Linked DNA regions of Homo sapiens: regions 1, 2, 3, 5 and 6 are each linked to region 4. Evidence: promoter capture Hi-C in 16 types of primary human blood cells and fetal thymus (Javierre and others, 2016). All regions are on one chromosome and are shown on one strand. The core of a region is centred on a gene start or on the middle of the fragment in contact, and the rest is flanking DNA. Distances in the headings are between cores, read along the strand shown.

Region 1 (3,541 bases), core at 1,042-3,541, 380 kb before region 4:
GACACAATGAAACCACTACAGTCATGGTAACTGATGCCGCTTGAGGCCCACAAAGGGAGTGAGATGTGCCCAAGATGTTTCTCTTCCACCACAGGCCTCATGCACCCTCTGCCCCCATAGGTTAGGGTGGAAGATGGCAAGGGGCCAAGGGAACAAGTCCCTCTTCCCTCAGAAGGGAAATGCACTGCATTTCAGGGATGTTATCTGGAAAGCTCTCCACCCAAGCAATGCCTGCCTCCAGAAAACTATAAATTAAAACAAAAATATATCCATGTTGATACAAACAAAGGAGACTAGTGGAAGGAGTCTTAAACAAATGCTCACCATGATCCTCCCTTTTCAGACTGTGCCTCTTGGCCACACAGGATGGTGCTCAATTGAGCTGGGGAGTGGGTGAGTCAGCTTCATGCTGGGGCAGTCCAGGCAGAGCTGAGGTGAGCCATCCTGGGCTGGCACTAGAGCCTAATTCAGATCATCATTTAGCAAATGTGCTGCCTCCCCCACGCCCTCCGCTGCAGAGCCTCCTACGTCTCTGGCCTTCAGGGGGGTCTGAGAGAGAGAGCAAGAGAAGAGGGAATGCATGAGTAGGAATGCAGTAAGCGGCTGAAAATGAGACACTCCATAATAGGAGGAAATTGTTCATGTTCAGAGCAATTTTGTCAAAACTGAACAATTATCTTTAAATAGCAAGCTTGAGGATGTACAAATAGCACTCATGAAATCAGCTCTGAGTGACTTCAGAGAATCGGCCCTCTCCTAAAGTCTCAATTTGTCTTTTCTGTGGGCTCATAAATTTCCATCCCTATTAGAGTACCATCCGGTGTGGAGAATGTTAACTATAATGTGTCCCCATAAAAGACTCAGTAAAAATCACTGCTGGCTCACCTCTGCTCTTAAGGAGCCCTCAACATTCACTCTTTGCCTTTAGAAAAATAAATAAGTTAAAAGTCACCTCCAGAGAGGAGTTCTTGTAGCTGTTAACCAGTTCTCTTGGGGCATATGGAACATTTTATTCTTGAAAGAAATCTGAGGTGCAAGCATCATTCCAAATTCATCTTGTGCTGGAGACAGAAAGGGTTTATTGGGGCGTGGTTCCTTCACTTCATGCCTCAAGAGAGCCTGCTCTCCACAAAGCCCCTGGGGGCCACAGACAAGAGTGGGGCCTGCACAGCATTGTTGAGAGTCCCGTGAGGCCAGAGCCACAGGCAAGAGCTGACCCAGCAGGAAAGGTGAGGCCCTCCAAGGCAGTCCTGGATGCCCCGAAAGAATAAGAGTGTGGGAAATTGACTCAGGCAACCCCTCTTTCCTTTCCTCCTTCTCCCCTCAAATTCCATTTAAACTCGTTCTAGTTATTAATGGACCCGTCACAGAGCATTTACACAGGAAGTGCACACATAAAGACTGGAGTAGTTACTTGGCAACTCTTAAGTGGGATAAGGTATGTTAAAAGGAAAACTTTCAACAAATTAAATTTAACAGAGTTTAATTAAGCAAAGAATGATTTGTGAATTGGACAGCCCCCACAACCAGAAGAGGTCCGGAGCAGCTCCAGGGTTGCCACATGGTTGGTTCACATTTATGGACAGAACAAAGAAAGTAACATACAGAAAAGGGAAGTGAGGACAGAAAGAGCTGGATTGGTTGCATATTTGCCTTATTTGAACACAGTGTGAACGGTTGGCCACCTGTGATTGGCTGACATATGGCTGCGGTAATTGCCTGAGACTTGGCTACTTGTTACAAGAGTGGGTCCCAGTCTGTTTACCAATCTAGTTAGGTTATAGTTCACTCTGCACAGAGAAACCTTTAGGCGGACTTTAAAATATGTAACAAGGCAGCACTGGGTTAAGCTTAATTTAACGAGTAGCAGGAGGCGGAGGTTGCAATGAGCTGAGATCGCACCATTGCACTCAAGCCTGGGCGACAGAGACAGACTCTGTCTCAATAAATAAATAAATAAATAAATAAATCATAATTTAATGGGTAGATCAATATGAAACAATGGCCAAGTACATCATGTGAAGTGAGTCATTTTCAGTATGAAGAATTTGATACAGTTTTTGTAAAAACAGATTCTATGTGTATTTTACATATATTTGTATGCATAGAGATAAATTACAAATGGCTTTATCTCAAATTATTTAGTTATTACTTCTAGGAGGTAGGGCTGAGGGAGGGAGGGAGGAGAATGCAGGACTCTTATTTTTGAGCTTATACTTTTCTAGATGAATTTTTTTTTTTAGACAGAGTCTCTGTCTGTTGCCCAGGTTGGAGTACAGTGTCACGATCTCGGCTCACTGCAACCTCCGCCTCCCGGGTTCAAGCAATTCTCCTGCCTCAGCCTCCTGAGTAGCTGGGATTACAGGCGCCCGTCACCATGCCCAGCTAATTTTTTTGCATGTTTAGTAGAGATGGGTTTTCACCATGTTGGCCAGGCTGGTCTCAAACTCCTGACCTCAGTTCATCTGCCGCCTTGGCCTCCCAAAGTGCTGGGATTACAGGCGTGAGCCACTGCGCCCAGCCTTAGATGTATTTTTACATCCAGTTCATAATATTGGAAAGAAGGCACTGCAGAGCAGTAGGTGGAAGGACCGTCTTTTCCATAAGTGGTGCCGAGCTAACTGCATATTCATATGGAAAAAATTAACCTTGGCCTTACCTCACCCCATATACAAAAATAAACTGCAGGTGGATTGTAGATCTAAACATTAACGGCAAAACACAAAAGCTTCTGCAACATACTATTTTCTTTTTCTTTTTTTCTTTCTTTCTTTCTTTTTTTTTTTTTTGAGACGGAGTCTTGCTCTGTTGCCCAGGCAGTCTCGCCCTGTCGCCCAGGCTAGAGTGCAGTGGCACGATCTCGGCTCACTGCAACCTCTGCCTCCCGGGTTCAAGTGATTCTTCTGCCTCAGCCTCCCAAGTAGCTGGGACTATAGGCATGCACCACCACACCCAGCTAATTTTTGTATTTTTTTTTTTTTTTAGTGGAGATGGGGTTTCACCGTGTTGGTCAGGTTGGTCTCGAACTCCCGACCTCAGGTGATCCACTTGCCTCGGCCTCCCAAAGTGCTGGGATTACAGGCGTGAGCCACCACACCCGGCCTCACAACATACTATTTTCATAACCTTGGGGTCATGGTTACATGGATGTGTATTTTAAAATATTTTGTTAAACTAAATTGTTTTATGAACTGTTCTGTATATTATATTTTGCCCCCAAAAAAAGGAGTTAAAAAAGAGAAAAAGAGCCTCAAAATCTGTTGAATAGGGGGTGGGAGAGAAATGTGTGCAGAGGATCTTGCAAAATCAGATAACTGTTGATTGTCATAATGCCCAAAAGACTGTGACTCACAGGCTTCTTAATGCTTTCTGCTATGGTCAGGAATTCATTTCCTTCACTGAGACTGCACAGGAAAACACAAAACCAAAACAAAACACAGGTAGAAGAGACTTCTCCAATTAACCCTCTTTAAACTTCCGAGCCACTTTTTATGTTGATAATTCTGAACTTGGTGAGAAGTGGGAGGATGGAGTAAATATA
Region 2 (3,926 bases), core at 1,214-3,713, 330 kb before region 4:
GAGCCACTGCGCCCGGCCCCATTTGAATTTATCATCTATTTAAACTACTTTAATAACAAAGGAAAAAGAAAAAAACCTTATACCTTTTAGCCACTATCTCATCCAGCCAATCAACAGAGATATAAAAAGTACTCTCTACTTACAGAAAAAGAGAAACAGCTGCTTCTTAGGAAAGAATGGTAGGACTCTAGGGGCCTTTCCCTTTGAAAAATTTTTAATTTTGTTATTACACTAGTTTAACAATAAAAGCCAGTGTAGACAAAAGACAACTAAACTAAACCAAAAAACCCCAAACACACACCTCACTGTTTAAAAGAGTGCCAGTAATCCTGAGGGCGGAGTCATGTGGGAAAAAAAAGCCTCTGATTGAAGACTGAATGGGAGTGAAGATTGTTATGCCTGGCCAGACTGGACTTCAGAGGCCTCCCCTAAAAAGGTCAAATGAAAACTGACCTGGCAATTCTGATTGTAGGAATTTGTCCTAATAGGATAAATATGCAAGGTACATATAGATGATGTTCACTTGCAGAATTATTTATAATAGCAAAAATGGAAAACAACCGCATGTCTGATACTGAGGATTAAATTATGGGATGTGTCTCCACTATGTAAATGCTCCATAGTTATTGAAAAATGATGATCTTGCTCAATAATTGACATGCTGGAAAAATAAGCTGTTAACAGTGGCTTTTTCTGTTGGAGGGATTAAAGGTAATTTTAACTTTGTTCTTTTTAGCTTCTATCTGGTCTACTTTCATATATTTATATATAAAAATAGATTTACCTCATTTAGGATTAGTAGCCCCAGCCAATAGTGCTGTGGGGGAAGAAAAATGTCACGTTTCCCAGGGGACAGTGACACCAATTTCTTACAATCTAACACACCTTCTCTCTGCTGACTGCTATTGCTATTTACAAAATCCACATTTTTCTGGACACGATCTGGCCCTGCTATCCAACGAACTGTATGATTTAATCTAAATACCTCATTATGCCTATTTGCTGAAAATATGCTTGTAATATTAATTATCAGAATATAGTTCTAAGAGATGTTCATATTAGAGGAACAATCAAGTGGTATTAAATTAGGTCCTTATATGGCTTTTCAAAGACATACTTTACTTTTTCCCAACTATCTTATTATTCCAAAAACATTTAGATTCATTTCCTTATTTAGATTGGTGGTTCTCCATGGGGTTGGAGAAGGGCAAGGTGAGTAGAGAGTGATTTGTCCTCCCTCAGAGGACATTCGGTGGCATCTGGAGACAATTTTGGTTGTCATGACTGGGGAGGAACTGCTGGCATCTAGTGGGTAGAGGCCACGGATGCTGCTAAACATCCTAAAATGCACACAACAGCCCCCCAACAACAGAGTCATCCAGCCCAAAATGTCAACAGTACCATGGTTGAGAGACTCCAATCTAGACGAAAATACAATAAGACAGAGATGAAAGGTTCGGTTAACAGAATAGCACAGAATGCTCCATCCCACTCCTTCAGCCCAATCCTGCCACAGTCCAGCATTATATGAAGTCAACGTTGCGGAAGAGCGTGGCCCCAAGACACCTTCATAAACACAGGCCATGTTCATGAGGCTTATTTTAAAATATTAATTCATCCAAGTTCTACAGCAAATGCAGAGTAGTACATATTAGTTAGCAGTTTAGAGATTTCTTTTAAACATGTCACTTTGAAACACACTCAAGATATTAAAGAGGTATATGCTGCTTCCAAAGGTCTGGCTGAGAGGCACACATTTCAGAAACCACTATCTGGCTCAGCTTGCCCAGCCAGGCAATGACTACATTAACAAGTGGTTGCTAGAAGCTTTCACATTGTATCTTTAATGATAGAATCTATCTATTGTGCATTTTCTTTTGTCTAAACAATCAGGAGTAAAGATTTAATTTAGTTATGGCTGAAATACTGAAACCAAAATACCTAACCCTATTGTTTTCCTATGGAAAGCATATTAAGGCCTCCCAAAAGAAGGGTCATCAACCTAGGAAAAACATTTTATTTAAATGTGTCCATCAATGGCTATTGACATATAAATATTTATAGGTAATACTGGCAGAGAATCAAGCTTTTTTTTTTTTTTTCTTTTTTTGAGACAGAGTCTCACTCTGTCACCCAGGCTGGAGTGCAGTGGCACAATCTCGGCTCACTGCAATCTCTGCCTCCCAGGTTCAAGCGATTCTCCTGCCTCAGCTTGGTGTGCACCACCATGCCTGGCTCATTTTTGTATTTTTAGTACAGACGGGATTTCGTCATGTTGCTCAGACTGGTCTCAAACTCCTGGTCTCAAGTGACCCACATGCCTCGGCCTCCCAAAGTGCTGGGATTACAGGCGTGAGCCACCACCCCAGCAAAACCAAGCTTTTGCAGTAAAAGACTTTTATTCTTTGGTTTGGCACATGACATGACCCTGCCTTGGAAGATGTATCATATTCCGTTATTCCTAAACACATGAAAACTTGAAATGAGTGGACACTTACGTGTGTTTTGTGAGGAAATGTTAAGATTAATGTTCAAATGCTAAGCTTCATTAACATTCAGCGTATTTGTTTTCCCTAGTTTAGGTAAAAGTTAAAGCTTCTTTTAATCAATAAAAGCCATAGTTTTAAAATGCTGGTACAACACAAAGGTTGCTTTGAGCACAAGAAAAACACACACTTTGGTTTGCTCAGTCTACACAAACCAAAGTGGATACCTCCAAAGTAATCTGTGAGAAACTTCTAACTTGTTACAAGAGAAAAGGCTACTTTTCTAATTGTACTTCTCCTTCCCTCTTACAATAATAGGAAAAAAATCATCCCCCCCCCCCATAATGGAAGGAAATTTGGAGGACTACCCTCTGTTGGGATGGGGGACTAAGAAACCAAACACAGAAGAGAGAGACAGATGAAATACAGAGCCTATATTGCACATCAGAACATGCTTAAAGACTAGAATCTGCATCACATACCCACGCCTGCTTGCTGTGAAGCCAGAACTCACACCCGCCAAAGCACTCAGAAATGAGTTTAGGCCACCACAGGGAGGAAGGGGGATGGCTGCCCCTTCTGTCAACCAAAGAGGCTCAGGGTAGCCACAGAAAACAGTATCAGCTTTTAAGGCCCATCTTAGCTTTGCCAGTGTATCTCGCTGACCCCGCCAGCCCTTGCTCAGTTCTGTTTGTATTAGGTTGATGCAAAAGTAATTGCGTTTTTTTGCCATTACTTTCATTAATACAACTCGTCTTCCCTGATTTCCAGCATCTAGGCAGCTTTGCCACTACAAGTGACTTAGAAGACAGGCAGTTTTTTCTAAGCTAATTAGTGGACAAGCTGCTAGAGGCTCTCTCTTATCTAAGTAGGAAGCCAGAGGAGGATTCTGGAGTCCAATGCCCACCCAGCCTCAACAGTCTTGACCTTCGAGAGACAAAGGCAGCACTACTGACTACTAGTACTGCCTACTAGTTCCTTAGCAGGATGTTAGGAAGAAAGATGAAATTGGTACCACAGCCCTAAGGAGAGAGACAGATGCCCTAAGTCAATGCCAAGTCATGACCATGGCCCACAGGTCTATACTTGCAACCCCTGCTGGACTAGGACGACATGCAAGCCTGAGCAAAATATTATGGGATGCCAATGCTCAGTGGGCTCAGTTCTCAGAAGTACTCACCTTTAGGACCGGCATAGCTGCTCGACAGCGGGCAGTCCTACTGTTTTTGAGGAAGTGAGATTCATCCTGAAAAGAAGTAGCCACATAAGTGTACAAGATCCAATCCTGAGTGGACAGAAATATGGGTCACTTTAGGCTTGACCCTGGCATGGCAAGTGCAAGGTGGATGCTCCCTTAGCACTTTCTCATTCAAGGAGATGGCTCACTGGGCCTAGGTCAGGACCCAGGGGTCTGGTGGCAGCTTCTCTACTGCATTCTGA
Region 3 (3,787 bases), core at 1,196-3,695, 290 kb before region 4:
CAGCTATTTTTTGTGTTTTTAGTAGAGACAAGCTTTCACCATGTTGGCCAAGCTGGTCTTGAACTGCTGACTTCAAGTTATCTGCCGGCCTCAGCCTCCTAAAGTGCTGGGATTATAGGCATGAGCCACTGTGCCTGGCAAAACAAAAAATATAAATTTTTTAAAAACTGTATCTTTTTGAATAGACAATGCATTTACATGATTAAAGCTCCATATATTTAATATATACAAAAGTATATATAGTGGAATGTCTCCTTTCTGCTGAGGGCAGATTTAAAAAGTAACCTATGGCATCAGAGATCCTCATTGGCATATATCCCTTCTAAGGCTCTGTATCTAATTTTGTATTTTTTTGGTAAAAGTGCTCCCCCCAAATTGTATGAGCTTCAGCACACCCAAAACTTGATTCTGCTCTTCTTCCATTCTTAACTCCCGCATCCCATTCCCTTCCCAGCAGGCAGCCAATGTCATCCATTTCTTTTTTTAAAAAATTGTTTATTTTTAATTGACTTATAATAATCATGGATATAATTATTATATTTCAATTACATAATCAATTTCTTGCATATTTTTCTGGATATATTCTATGCACATTTAAGTAAAAACATTTATTTATCTTCCCTTTCATACAGATGGCAGTGTGCTATATACACTGTTCTGCACTTTTTGCATTTGTCTTGGAGTAAATTCATCTCTTTAAATTTTGTTTTTTCCATCTGTAATATGGAAATAATTGTACCTATCCCATAGACTTCCTGTTAGGATTACCTGAGATCATGTAAAGCACTTAGCTCATTGCCTGGAATACATTAAGTAATCAATAAATGTAAGTTATTATTCTATTAATGTTTAAAATATACTACAAAGCTACAATAATAAAACTAGTGTGATATTGATAACATATTAGCAGACTGATGAAACAAAGTAAGAAGCCTCTTCAACTTGGTCTTTATGATTTGTGTGCAAGATACTGTTGCCAACAGATGAAATACAAACACTAAAAAGAAAGTTTGTCTCAAGGAACTTAAAGACTAGGAGAAGAGAGAATACCTGTGTGGAAAATATAATAAAAAAAGAATTGTGGATAAGATCAGTGCAGTGGTGTGTGCCTGTAGTCCCAGCTGCTTAGGAGGCTGAGTCAAGAGGGTTGCTTGAGCCCAGGAATTCAAGGCCTTAGTGGGCTATGATTATGCCTGTGAATAGACACTGTGCTCTAGCCTGGGAAACATAGTGAGACTCCGTCTCTAAAAAGAAATCAATCAATCAATCACAGATAAATGGCCTTGGGGGTTTAGTGAGGAGCTCTGATGATGGAGACACAGGGAATACAGAATCAGGAAGGTTAAGCGGATGAAGTGGTGTCTGAACTGGCTAAGTAGAAATTTGGAATCCAGCAATAATAGGAAGATGGTGGTTATGGCAAGGATGATCCAATCTGATGGAAGCACAAATGCTGAGAAAAATCTAGTTAACCAAAATAATGTGTAAAAGAGTTTATTCTTTAACATAGAGTTATAGATTGGCAGGATGTTTTCCTATATGACACGATCTCTGGGGTCCTTTCTACAAGTCTGAACAAGTAAAAGAGAGCCAGAAGTCCCTTGGCGGGGGATAAGATGTGCATTTTGATTGAATTTGGCATCTCAATCTAACTCCTAACTGCATTAAAGGGGGAAAACATTATCAATATTAACAAAACTGATCCCTCATGAACAGACTCAAAGTCTAAATCTTTAGCTAGCACTTTATCAATAACATGTTCTAATTACATGTGAGGCTTTGAAAATATACCTCTGTGTGATAATTGCTGGAAAGCAGATTTTAATCCCAGGAACTTATAAATTGCAGTTGTAAAGATGCAATAGAGAGCTTATCCATTGACACTATCTAGTGTCATTTGCTTGCAACTGCAGATATTGACAGGACGCTGCTTGGAACAATGGGTGCCCTGTCCCCCTCTATGACCACCACCCCAGTTGATCAAGTGTATAAGTGACAGTTTATATGCAAAATGGTCCAAAGGCTACCTGATCACCCCCCAAGGCCACATGGGGCTTTGAGGAAACTGAATGCAAAGCCACGTGTTAGATAAAATAAAGCTTATATCTTCATCCCAGAAATTAAAAAGCCCCCTGGCAAAGTCAGCTTCCAGAAAAGCTGAGGCCTGAAAGAAGAACCAGTCCCCCAAAGCTCTATCATTGGATTGAATTGTTTCAGACCTGAGGAGGAGGGAGCTCCTGAAGCTGGGCCCACCCTGGGACATGGAGGGTGGGCTTCTTCTGCCATCTGCCACCTCTTTATTCCAATGCCTTCTCCTCTCAGTCTAGATTTCCCTGGGCCCCCAGTCCTCGCCCAACTAGTGTGTGCTGTTTGTGTGATCAGCAAATCATTTAGGGAAAAGCCTTTTAATTAAGAGGAGAGCAACAAATTATTAAGTCAGAGTCATTTATTACCCTGCCATCTGGCCAGACTTCCTTCTGGCCCCCCTTCTTCCTCAACCAAGCCTGCACAGACATATAAAGTAACAAAGAGAATGGAAAAAGAGGAGACTTCTTTCTGCCTGGACTTGGAAAGAACTGTCCAGCTCCTCCTGGAAGCAGGGTAAGGGTTCTAGGAGGACTTTTCCACACCCTTTGTATACTGTAGTAGCCAAGTCTTGGTTTTCCTCTCCTGTAGAACAGGGATGATGAGGTCTACCTTAGGGCTTCTGGATGCCTGGCCCAATGGCTGGTATAGTGGAGGCACTCAGGAAACAGAAGCTGAATCTGAAGCCTGCAAATTGGAAGCTTTGTTATGGATGGTGGCGTCAGCAGTAGTGGAGACAGTGATGGCTGGAGGGAGCCTACTAAATGTTTCCATCCTGCAAGCTCAGCTGGCTCTCCCTCTGTTGTGACCCACAGAGGTATTCCCTTGCTGTCTCCCTGCAAATGCCAGGGAAGCTCAGGAAATTCATGCCCACCCCTTGCTCCCGTCCCCAACCAAACCTAAATGCTGGGACATTATTCTAAGAGAAAGACAGCTGGAGACCACAGTATCTGGTTCAGGCATGATGAGAAGGACTGAGCAACACTTAGAGTAGGAAGAAGCTAAGGAATCACACATAGGGGTGTATTTCAATAGCCAACAACTCAGAGAGGACTATGCGGGATACATGATAAGACAGGCACTATTTCCTAAAAGCAAAACACCACAGTTATGACAGCTATGAATGAAAACTAATACAGGCATATTGGAGACTCAATTACCATGAGTGGTGTGGCAGTCAATGATGTGATTTTCCAAAAGAGTGAGCAAATCTGGTAAAGAAATTAACAACACAAACTCTAATCTTCCCTTAATTTACAGAGTAGTTTCATTCTTAGCATACAGTTAGTGCATATTAAAAATCATTTTTAAAAAGTCTCTCTGTTTACATATAAAATTGTTACTTTTTAAAGCTCAGATAGTTATAAGCAAGTTATAAACAACTCTGTAAATATCTAGTAGAACATTTGAAAATTGTGTGGAGCATAGGGTAAGTATATATGAGATGGTGAGATTGTCTCACAGATAGTAAAAGATTGAGCTGCCTGGGGTCCCAGCCTCTACTTGCCAGAAGTAAGCCCCTTACCCATCATTGGGGCAACCAAAAACACTCCACACTTTTTCAAAATGCTCCCTCGTGGGTGATCCTGTGCTAGACTAAAAATTGAAATGTGAATCAAACTAAATTAATGTTTAAAAAAACCTTACTTCGACACAATCAAGAAATTTTGAATTTGAATGGATACATGATGATTTGAAAGAA
Region 4 (3,964 bases), core at 346-2,845:
ACAATGCACTAAGAGATTTCTGAAGTAAAATTAGATTATTTGAAAAAAAAAACGTGCTAATAAACCACAAAATTCCTTTGAGAACAGTAAAATGCACATCCCAGTTTCAATGCCTGGGGCATGATAACCTAAAAAAACTTAAGAGTCACAAAATATGCTGCTGCACTTATTTGATACACACCCACAAAAGCTACTTTTAAACCAGAAAACTCTAGAGGACTAAAGCACTTTTGTCATGAATTAGGTATCCAGTAAGTGCCATCAAAGGGTTTCAAATATGGAACTTATTGTCTGGAAGCAGAATGGTCTATATTTCTGAGTTCCTATCTGGCAGCAGTAAGAAAACTGAGAAAGAGAAACCGGGTAGCATAGCAACTCTTCATTTCTATACCGAAGCAATACAGGCTGTTAGAATTTTACTTCCAGTTCATCTGCAACAAACAGCTCCTCCACTAGAGCTACAAAGTTTTCAGCAGCTGAAAGAGGACGAAAAAAGGAGGTGAGTGGCATTATTAAAAGTTCATGATCGTTTTAATCAACATTTCTCAATGAGGAGTTGAGGGAACTAGGGATCAGTTGCTCAAACTCGTATCTTGTTTATCTGTATTGAATAAATTCATTAATCCCTGGAACCACATCTCCCTCTAGTGACCCTTCAGAGACAACTACCACTCTTTTATGTTGAAAAAAAAAAATCACTTTAAAATTCATTGTAATTTCTGTTACTGATCTGGGACACCAATGGTCATAGATTTCTAGCAACACAGGGGTTCTCCAGGGCCCTGAAACCAGACAGCTTGGATTCAAATCCGGATTTCACCAGGAAAAGCCCACAGTTCTTTATTCCTCGGTTTTCCCACTTGCAAAATGGGGATAAATAGTTTTCACTTCAAGGGGTTGTGAAGATTAAATGAGATAAGAATAAAAGGTTTAGATCCGTCCCTCACAGAGTGGGCTTTCAATAAATGCGGGATACTACGTTATTATAAAGCTAATAATACGACGCTTTACAGTTTAAGTTATTTTAGTCACAGATAGTCCCTCTCTTAAGTTTTACAACAAGCCCTGTGGGATAGTTGCTTTATCACAGCTAATTTTCATTCTCATAGAGATCTTAAGAACCCAGGCTCGGAAGTAATAGAGGAAGTGGGGCTAGGGAGTGGAATGGGATAAAGAGAGAGAGAGGGGAGGCGGGTGGGGAGGCAGGTGAGACAAAGAGCAGGTAGAGAGGGAGAAGAGGGATGGGATGGGTGGGTAATGGAAGAGGTGGAGTCAGCGAGGCTCAAATTCAGGTCTTGGAGCCCCAAATCTCCAGCTTTTCTCATAGCGCATCCCTCGGTCCCGGCCCTCCTGACTGAGCCCACCACCATGATCTTCTCTTGCCCCATTCTTTGTCTTGACCGCGATCCCACGATTCCTGCTTCCGAACCACCCTCTCCGGATCCCCAGTCCGGGTAAAGCCCAAGTCCATGGCTTTCTTTATACCTTATTCCCCGACCGCACCATGTTGCCGGTCCTCAGGCGCTTTGGTCGCTTCTTCCGGGCGGGAACCTGCCGTGTCGCAACTCGCTTCCGGTGGACAAGCGGCAGATAGCGGAAAGAGCCGCTTCGTTTCCTGCTAGGCCTGAAAGGGGCGGGGAAACCGTGCCCCGGAACTCTGAGCATGCGCAGATTCCCGCCGAGCTTGCGCAGATTCCCGCCGAGCTCGCGCAGATTCCGGCCGAGCATGCGCAGATTCTCTCCGAGCATGCGCAGATTCCCGCCGAGCATGCGCAGATTCCCGCCGAGCATGCGCACATTCTCTCCATTCCGCCGTAGTCGGGAGCGTGTGGTGTTTGAGCCGCCTGAAACGCTAGTACGACAGATTTACTTAAAGATTCACTTAATCACTTAAAGATTCACGTCCCTTTTCTCTCATTGAGAATAACACCTAAGGCATTTTGTGTCAGAGCTCTGGAGTTAGATTTCTTTTCTTTTTTTTACTTTTTTAAAAAATCTTTTTTCCTTTAATTTCATTTTTTCATTTATTTTTTATAACTTTTGATTTTTTTTTTTCTCATCACTTGTGGGTTTTTTTCTACTTTTTATTTTTGGTTATTGTGGAGTTAGATTTTCTTGAGTATGAGTATGAATGCAGAAAGTCACTTAACTTCTCTAAAAGACTCAGTTTCTTCTAAAAAGTGATAATGAAACACTTCACCGATGTGATAACCTTAGAGCCAACTGGGGAAGAAGAGTAGGACGTCCCCAGGAGCACAAAAGTAGAAGGGAGATTCTACTCTGCAGAGAAAATGGGATGCACAAACGCCTGGAGGCATGAGACTTTATCTGCTAAGGCTCTCCCAGTAGTTAGCAGTGGCTCCAGCTTGGAAGGGAGGAGTCAAGGTTTAATTTAGAAGACAAGTCTAGGGAGATATAGAAATAGCAGCTGTCATCACAGTGCTTTACTTGATCACGAGCCCTTTGTCCAGCCCGCATCCCCTACCCCTTTGAGGGAGGCAGGCCCAAGCAGTACCTTGCATAGAAATGACTGCTTTCTATACCATATGACCCCCAGCTGACAGGTGGCTGGACGAAGGGTCTGGCAACCTGCAAAGTGTCTGCAAACCTCTGCCCAAACTGAGAAAATCAAGTCCAATCAATATTCTCTCCTGCTTGAAAATTGTTTCTGGGAAAAGCAAGAATTGAAGCTGAAAAGATGTGGAGAATCTATGAGCCAAAATTATAAATACATTGAAGCCTCTAGAATGTAGAGTCAGACATATTCAGAGGTGCTCATAGAGCCCAGGAGGTTCTTCCAGCTTTTGATTCAAACTCAAGGAGTTACTTAAAAGCTGAAATATTATTTTTAATAATACTTTAAAGGAACAGCAGCGCCCTGGCCGCTCAGCTTTGCGCGGGCTGCAGCAGGCAGGCAGGCAGGCACGGACACTCGCCCTTCCCTGCGGGTAAGATTTCCAAGAGAAAGATCAGCTCGGCAGAAGGGGCGGGGAAGATCTGTGAGGTTGTCAGCTAAATCTCCTCCAGCAAAGGTGGAAACGAAGCCCAGCGGAGGCAGCAGGACAGCATAAATTTTCAGACAAAGAAGCAAACAAGGAAAAATGGGAGCAAAGGGCAAACAGGCCAAGTGGCTATCCGGGAAACAAAAGATTTATCTGTGGAAAGCGGAGAAACTGAAACAAGGAGAGTCCAGCCTCTGGTGAAGCAGGACAGAAAGAAGCCAAATCTGATTAGTATCACATACCATATCTTGTCAGTGGTCCTTGTCTCCCTTCTTGTACGATCCAGAGCTAGAGAGAGAGAGAAAAGGAAAGAAACAGACAGGGTGTCGCTCGGCCGAGGCTGGAGTCCAGTAGCACAATCATAGCTCTCTGCACCCTGGAACCCCTGGGCTCAAGCGATTCACTTACCTCAGCCTCCCAGGTAGCTGGGACCACAGGTGTGTGCCACCAAGCCCAGCTAATTTTTGTGGGGTTTCTGTGTGTGTGTGGAGGCGGGGTCTTCCTATGTTGCCCAGCCTGGTCTTGAACTCCTGGGATCAAGCGATCCTCCCGCTTCAGCCTCCCAAAGTGCTGGGATGACAGGTGTGAGCAACTGCACTTGGCCTCAGAGGAATATTTTTATCAACTATTTTGATAAGGAATATTTTTATCAACTATTTTTAAATGCAAGTTTTTTAGTAGCTGTAGAAACTTTTTTTTTTTTTTTTTTTTTTGAGACAGAGTTTCCCTCTTGTTGCCCAGGCTGGAGTGTAGTGGCGCGAATTCTGCTTACGGCAACCTCCGCCTGCCGGGTTCAAGCGATTCTCCTGCTTCAGCCTCCCAAGTAGCTGGGATTACAGGCATGTGCCACCACACCCAGCTAATTTTGTATTTTTAGTAGAGATGGGGTTTCTCCATCTTGGTCAGGCTGGTCTCGAACTCCCGACCTCAGGTAATCCGCCCACCTTGACCTCCCAAAGTAC
Region 5 (3,744 bases), core at 395-2,894, 400 kb before region 4:
CAGTAAATGGGACAGAGAAGCACACTCAATGTGACTTACTTTGCAACCATCCCCCTCAATCCAAACGGACCCAGTAAAGATTATGTCTCTTAGTTGGGAATAGTCTACAGTGCAGCAACTTGTCTATCACTTCAGGTAGGAAATCCCCAAGATAACCTAAACACCATATTCATATCGTACTGGGTATATCATTCTCAACACTTCCTGATCTCTTTAGGTCCACTTGTTACGTCATCAGTGTAATGGATCAGTATCTTCCCTAAGACACCAAAATGATCAAGATCTTTCTGGATTATATTATAATAGTATATGATGCCGGGCACAGTGGCTCATGCCTGTAATCCCAGCACTTTGGGAGGCTGAGGCAGGCAGATCACCTGAGGTCAGGAGTTTGAGACCAGCCTGGTCCACATGGTGAAACCCTGTCTCTACTAAAAATACAAAAAAATTAGTCGGGCATGGTGGTGCATGCCTGTAATCCCAGCTACTCAGGAAGCCGAGGCAATAGAATTGCTTGAACCCAGGAGGCAGAGGTTGCAGAGCCGAGATCGCACCATTGCACTCCAGCCTGGGCACAGAGTGAAACTCTGTCTCAAAAACACAAAAAGGAATTAATACTGGGAATTTTAAAAAAAAACATTTGTTTACCAATTCATTTAAAAATAACAGTAACACCATTACGTTAACATCAATAACATATGAGTTGTATATGAGTATATGAGTTGATAGCCCTGAAGTAAAACAGTGAAAGTATACTGCTGTCCCTGCAAGTGAAGATAAACTAGTTTTGACTACTTTGCAGATAGGGATGAAAGGAAAAAATACATTTGTTAGGTTAATAGGAGCAGTATGTCATGGCCAGAAGATATGTTGATTTCCTCCAATATAGATTTATACCCAGAATCATAGCTGAGGTTAGTTATGATCATAAGATCATTATTCATGAAAATTTCAGATGTTTGGATAAGCCATTTATCTGTGATTCACCCAGGGATTCCTTTTGTTTTACTGTGTGTAGGAGAGGCAACCCTAGAGGTTTGCACTTGATTTTCCAACCCTAACAGCCCTCCCTCCATGGGCCATGGGTCAAATAAAGGAGTTTCACCATTCTGGAAATAGGGTAAAAAACAAAGGATGGAGCCACCATTCCACATTATCCACTGTGAGATATTCAATCCAAGACATCATCTGCCATCTGACCTCCAAAAGCTCCTACTCTGACCACAGTGAGTGGTCTCAGGTCCCCATGGGGAAGAGTTGGGGGGACTTTGCCCCCCAACTTGTATACTTGTGGCTCTGTTGTAGTGTTCTTCCATCAGTTGAGGGACAAAATCCAAGGGGCATTACCTTATAATTAGATGGTTTATAAAAGAGTAAGTAGTACAAATACAACCTAAATGGTAATTCAAGCTTGATGTGAAGAACATTTGCCCTCCTAAAATTATGGATAATCTCTAATTTCCTATTAGAGATTTATCTCTCCTATGTTATCTGTAGTCTTGGTGGGACCGCCAACTAAGGTGCCAAGGGCCAGAAGTATGGCCCCCAACTAGGCCACTGGACTCTTCTGTTCAGGTTTTTGACTTCTGAATAGTGTCAAGACATAAAACAGACCAGAAGCTCAGCTCCCTACTGGGGATTCTTCTTTCACTCCTCCCTTTGATATCTGTGAGAACGTCCTATTTTATTCCCCTTATAAACCTGATTCTTTAGGTTTTTTTCAATCCTGTGAAGCACTCTATTACCCTCCAATAAATACTTTTTCTGCTTTAGTTACCTGCAGTCAGTCTTTATTGCATGCAACCAAACACTCTGGCTGGGAATTGGGGCAGTGTTGTGATCCTGGCAGCAGGAGTCATGAGCTTTTCCCAAAGCTTAATGCTCTGCCTTAGTTTAACTCAGCTGCTGTGTCATTTGATCCAAATTCTCTAAAGATAATTGATTGGTTCCATTTACTCTATCAGTTGTCCATCCCGGGTCCAATCAACTGAGCATATTGAGAGTGTTCAGTTATGAGAAACAAGAGTACCAAAGGCTGTAGATGACAGTAGTTTTTATTTTTTTTTAAGACAGAGTCTCACTCCGTCGCCCAGGCTGCAGTGCAATGAAGCGATCTCAGCTCACTGAAACCTCCACCTCCTGCCTCAGCCTCCTGAGCAGCTGGGATTACAGGCACGTGCCACCACGCCCGGGTAAATATTGTAATTTTTTAGTAGAGACAGGATTTCACCATGTTGGTCAGGCTGGTCACAAACTCCTGACCTCAGGTGATCCACCCGCCTTGGCCTCCCAAAGTGCTGGGATTACAGGTGTGAGCCACCACGCCCAGACATGATTATGATGGAATCTCTAATGCATTCTACATGCCCCTCTTTCCTTACATGCAATTCCAAAGATGCCCCTAAGTATCACATGTGGAACCAAAAAAGCATTCATCCCTTCACTAATCAACCCAAATTCCCAATTAGCTACCATACCAAGATGCGATACCTTTGTAAGCTGCTTCTCAATCAGAGACTGGTAATGACTATCCTCACAATTCTGCAAAATATGGAGAGTTGATTGGCCCAAGGATACGCAAAACTTCATGTATCAAAAGGAGTAGGTAATCTGATCATCAGAAAAGTATCAAGACTAGCTAACAGAAATAGGATGTATGATGTTACTAAACGGAGAACATGAACAAGTCACTAAACATTTACCAGGTAACAGGCAAAATGAGGAGAGACAGTAGTTTACATTCTTGTGACCATAAAATTGAAATGAGCCAAGACAAAAGTTGGAATATGACACAGATGGCTCAACATACCCCTTTCAGTAGTACCAGCAATTGTGCTTCCTCTGAATGCCTAAGACATTATAATAAAAGTTTTACAAATACTTAAAAATAAGTAGGCTGGGGGCAGTGGCTCATGCCTGTAATCTCAGTACTTTAGGAGGCCAAGGTAGGTGTATCACTTGAGCCCAGGAGTTCAAGATCAGCCTGGGCAACCTGGCAAGACCCCATCCCTACAAAAAATACAAAAAAATTAGCTGGGCATGGTGGCACCTGCCTATAGTCTCAGTTACTCAGGAGGCTGAGGTGGGAGGATCGCTCGAGCCTAGGAGGCAGAGGTTGCTGTGAGCCCAGATCATGCCGCTGCACTCCAACCTGGGTGAGTGAGAGCCCATCTAAATTAATCACCAAAAAAGTAAATTGTAATAGGATATGGGGACCACAAAATGGTCAGACCTTTTCAGGACATTTAAAATCTCCTTTCTAGTACTGTCATTTATTAAATCATAAAATAACAGAGGACCCATTTTATCCCAGACTCTATTATGGGGAGTAGATTGCAAAAATGGCCATAATTCTGTATCTACATGCTTTGTAATTTGTAGCTTGTTGCATCAAGAAATAGAGTATATCTTCTTACTCCTTAAATCTGGATTCGCCTTGAGACTGACTTCTTTGTACTATACTGCACAAGTAATGATGTGTGAGCTTCAATTACCCTGCCACTGCCCTGTGAGCCAACCCAGGATAGCTGCTGACAGACACATGACCCAGGCACACTTACTGCTCCAAATGCCACCCATCAGCCAAATATGAGTGAGGCCATGCTAGACCAATCAGTTCCCCACTGACCTAACAGCTGACCACAGATGCAAGAGCAAGCCAAGCCCAGAATGACCCAGATTATCAGAATGACTTTTGAGTAATATTAATGCTTATTATTTTCAGTTCTTGAGTTCTGAGGTGGT
Region 6 (3,564 bases), core at 307-2,806, 260 kb before region 4:
AGCTAAAGTATTCAGCGCTCCCACTGCCAGGAATATGCCTCCCTCCTCTAAATTCCACATATTTTAACTCAGTTCAAATGTCACTTCTTGAAAAAGGCTTTCAAAGCTTTCCCAGAGCTGTGGCAACTATCTCCACCTCCCCCCTCTTCCCACCTCTCCTAATTGCTGCCAAGCTGTAAGCATTATCTCCCTATTTTGAACACTCCCCAAACTTTGTATGCTTTTGTAACACTTACTATTTTATGCTTTATATTATGACTACATACATATTTATAGTACTAGACCCTTGAGGATGCAATTCCAACCAGTTTGTGCTCCCCACATCTTTCAACACAATTCAATGCCTTACCGATGATGGGTGTTCAGTAAATATTTTTTGAATGTCTAAATAGGAACCCATTGATTTAATATGGTCTTTATGGTTGTTTTTACTCTGGAACTCATTAGACAATAATGGGGATTTTACTTTTGGGCTCATGATTAGGCAGTTAGTAAGAAGAATCTAACTCAGTGAAGTGTTTTACAAGATTTACATTATATTCAAAACAGGCCTCTTAGGCTTCTCAATCTTTTTTTTTTTTTTTTTTTTTTTTGAGACGGAGTCTCACTCTGTCACCCAGGCTGGAGTACAGTGGTGCAATCTCAGCTCATTGCAACCTGCACCTCCCTGGTTCAAGCAATTCCCCTGCCTCAGCCTCCTGAGTAGCTGGGATTACAGGTGCACACCACCATGCCTGGCTAATTTTTAATATTTTTAGTAGAGACGGGGTTTCACCATGTTGGCCAGGCCAGTCTCGATCTCCTGACCTCTGGCAATCCACCTGCCTAGGCCTCCCAAAGTGCTGGGATTACAGGTGTTAGCCACCACGCCCGGCCACTTCTCAATCTTTCTAAAGGCAGTCCTGTTGTTGCTTCCTGTCCTTAGCAGTTCTCTGTTTCTAGAAATCTTTTCACTTTCAGTGGAAGGGTTGGGAAAGGCAGTCTTGTTATGGACATCATCCCTTTCTTTCTTTCTTTCTTTCTTTCTTTCTTTCTTTCTTTCTTTCTTTCTCTTTCTTTTCCTCTTTCTTTTTTTTTTTTTTTTTTTTGACAGAGTTTCCCTCTTGTTGCCCAGGCTGGAGTGCAATGGTGCAATGTTGGCTCACGGCAACCTCCACCTCCCAGGTTCAAGCGATTCTTCTACCTCAGCCTCCCGAGTAGCTGGGATTACAGGCATGTGCCACCACACCTGGCTAATTTTGTATTTTTAGTAGAGACGGGGTTTCTCCATGTTAGTCAGGGTGGTCTTCAACTCCCAACCTCAGATGATCCACCCGCCTCAGCCTCCCAAAGTGTTGGGATTACAGGCATGAGCCACCATGCCTGGCCGGACATCATCCATTTCTATGACTCTGGATATAGGTCTCATATGGCATTTCTATCTCCTGCCCTAATTTACTTGCACAACACACTTGGAGCTAGAATTTAATGAGCACAAAACCCTAAAACTCAATTTTAGGTAAAGCAGATATTCAGTCATATGTGGGAGCACTCACATGTATGTGTCCAGGCTGAAGGGGAGAAATATGGTAGCTTCACTGAAATAAAAAAGCCACTTATTTATTCAGAGTCCATTTTCTTGAACACCTACTTAACTTCAGGTGCTGCATTATGTGCTGGTGATACAAATATAGATACTGATCCCAGCCTTAAAGAAGCTCTGAGTCAGACAAAGGGAGATGAATGTATGGTGAGATAATTATTATATAGACTATGATTTCTGCAATACCAGAAACAGATACAGAGTGATGTGGAACACAAAATATTTTCTTGAAGAACAAATAGAATTTTTGAAATAAAGAGGTTTTTTGTTGCTGCACAGTATTTGTGCTGATATTAATCAATAAATATTATTTTGTAGTTATTAAAAATATTAGTATCATCTTTAAATGAGCACCTTGGGCTGGGTCTCAGCATCCATGGTGAGTCCTGGGGCATGATTCAGACAAGTAGCCATGCTGGGTTAACCAAGACTGAGATGTAGGTCCTTTCTCCTTAGAGCTTGTAGGAATGAATCATTTCATAGAGATGGCAGCAAAGGGGTAGTTTTCTTATGACTCATTGGACTGAACTTCGTTCCAATGATATTTTGCTGCAGAAATTTTGCATGCTACTCTGTCTATGGCTCCAATATTTGTAAAGGCATTACCATGGCTGTTTGGATGAATCACTGGCATATCTTCTCTATGGCCCTAGAGGGGTGTGTGTGTGTGTGTGTGTGTGTGTGTGAGAGAGAGAGAGAGAGAGAGAGAGCGGGGTGGGGGAGAGAGGTTTATAAGGAAAGGCAAAAAAAGCAATCCTAAGTTTTCAGTGACCAAAGTCTACAGCTGCAAACACTGAGGTTTTATATAGACCACTTTAAGTTTCCTTCTTTTTCTTGCTCTTCACATTTAGGGGCACTTTGCTGCTCAAGAAACTCCTTGAGAAAAATAGGGTAGGGTGACATGAGTCAGTAGCAGAAATAGGAGAGGAAATTAAAATCCATTTCAAATTACCTCTTGTCAGCGGCTCAGTGAAAGGCTTGAATAGGGAGGAGGCTGGGGATGTTGGTGAAGACGAAGCTGAAATATTGCTCTGGATTCTTATGACTCACAATTGAAAGAGCACTGTGACTTATAGTAATGATGACTGTGGTGATGGTGGCCACAAGCCATTCAACAAATATGCATTGAACATTTACTAGATGCCATCTCTGACTTAGGCACACGGGATCAAATGAATTAAAAAAATTATCTCTGTCAATTGGAGCTTAAATTCTAGGCGAAGAAGCTGACAAAAAAATGGTACTAGCAACCTCCTCCCTGTTTGAAAATTTGAAGCATTTCCTTCTCATGTCTCAAGCCTCAATGAAACATTTCCTTCTCATGTCTCATGTCTCAAGCATTTCCTTAGTCATGAGGAATTTAATCTCCATCAAGTCCCAGCTTCATTGTGGAAGTCACAAAACTTTATCTCCTCGAAAGCTTGCAGACTGAGATCTACTTTAAATGTTTATGTGAACAGAGAAACGGTCTCTGGTTGACAGGTGTCTGTGTCTTGTATGTGCAATGAGAGGAGCTGTGATAGTGGACAGTGGGCAGAGAGTCTACAACCAGACCTTCCACACCGACACGTTCCTGCTGAGGTGAAATGCAAGAGTTAGTGCCTGAATCGCTCCCCTCCCTCCCCGTGGCCTTTCTCCTTCTTTCTTTTACTCTTCACTTCGCTCCCTCCTCCTTCCCTTCCTAAATCCCTCCCTCTCCTGGTTACCTCCCTTTCCCTTGGTCCCTCCCCATCCCCTTCCCTCGCACAGTTCTCTCCTCCTCTTGCTCCCTCTCCCTCCAGCTTCTTTTCCTCTCATCCCCTTTCCCTCCTCCATCCCTCCGCGGCGTCTGCGTCAGGCCCCCACGAGCGTGACGCGCGGGGTCTGGGTGGGAGCTGTCCACTCGCCCGGGGTGCTGAATGCAGCAGCGGCGGCCGCGGCGCCGGCGGCGGAGATAGCCGAGAGCCTCCCTCGCTGCAAGAACCTTGTTTCCAGTTCTCGGA

What was found. Contacts are between HindIII fragments. The CHiCAGO score rates a contact against its expected background, and 5 or more counts as called.
Region 1: a fragment that was not itself captured here is called in contact with the fragment with the promoter of XRCC5 in region 4 in 6 of 17 cell types (neutrophils, total B cells, total CD4 T cells and 3 more); the score reaches 10.1 in neutrophils.
Region 2: a contact is called between a fragment that was not itself captured here and the fragment with the promoter of XRCC5 in region 4, in 6 of 17 cell types (naive CD8 T cells, total CD4 T cells, endothelial precursors and 3 more). The highest score is 6.5, in naive CD8 T cells.
Region 3: a contact is called between a fragment that was not itself captured here and the fragment with the promoter of XRCC5 in region 4, in 10 of 17 cell types (neutrophils, activated CD4 T cells, naive CD4 T cells and 7 more). The highest score is 16.2, in neutrophils.
Region 5: a contact is called between a fragment that was not itself captured here and the fragment with the promoter of XRCC5 in region 4, in 3 of 17 cell types (naive CD8 T cells, total B cells and total CD4 T cells). The highest score is 6.7, in naive CD8 T cells.
Region 6: a fragment that was not itself captured here is called in contact with the fragment with the promoter of XRCC5 in region 4 in 2 of 17 cell types (naive CD8 T cells and naive CD4 T cells); the score reaches 7.0 in naive CD8 T cells.

The regions. Positions count from the first base shown.
Region 1 is chr2:216,490,083-216,493,623 of GRCh38, reverse strand. All of the region lies in intron 1 of RPL37A-DT (RPL37A divergent transcript), which reads left to right. Among named protein-coding and RNA genes, the nearest start is that of RPL37A-DT, 6.9 kb to the left of the region's middle. RefSeq lists an enhancer at 998-1,057. The HindIII fragment of the contact is 878 bases long and covers 1,853-2,730 here.
Region 2 is chr2:216,438,226-216,442,151 of GRCh38, reverse strand. It overlaps SMARCAL1 (SNF2 related chromatin remodeling annealing helicase 1), which reads right to left. Exons shown (of 18, transcript NM_014140.4): 10 at 3,667-3,732. Among named protein-coding and RNA genes, the nearest start is that of SMARCAL1-AS1, 28 kb to the right of the region's middle. The HindIII fragment of the contact is 164 bases long and covers 2,382-2,545 here.
Region 3 is chr2:216,398,393-216,402,179 of GRCh38, reverse strand. All of the region lies in intron 1 of SMARCAL1-AS1 (SMARCAL1 antisense RNA 1), which reads left to right. It overlaps LOC107985984 (a long non-coding RNA gene), which reads right to left. Exons shown (of 3, transcript XR_001739880.2): 3 at 2,432-2,772. Among named protein-coding and RNA genes, the nearest start is that of SMARCAL1, 12 kb to the left of the region's middle. The HindIII fragment of the contact is 687 bases long and covers 2,102-2,788 here.
Region 4 is chr2:216,106,979-216,110,942 of GRCh38, reverse strand. It overlaps XRCC5 (X-ray repair cross complementing 5), which reads right to left and starts at 1,595. Exons shown (of 21, transcript NM_021141.4): 1 at 1,486-1,595. The coding sequence starts at 1,506. RefSeq lists an enhancer at 1,250-1,871. The HindIII fragment of the contact is 16,954 bases long and covers 1-3,964 here.
Region 5 is chr2:216,508,242-216,511,985 of GRCh38, reverse strand. No RefSeq gene overlaps it. Among named protein-coding and RNA genes, the nearest start is that of RPL37A, 11 kb to the right of the region's middle. The HindIII fragment of the contact is 464 bases long and covers 1,413-1,876 here.
Region 6 is chr2:216,372,247-216,375,810 of GRCh38, reverse strand. It overlaps MARCHF4 (membrane associated ring-CH-type finger 4), which reads left to right and starts at 3,328. Exons shown (of 4, transcript NM_020814.3): 1 at 3,328-3,564. The HindIII fragment of the contact is 2,896 bases long and covers 109-3,004 here.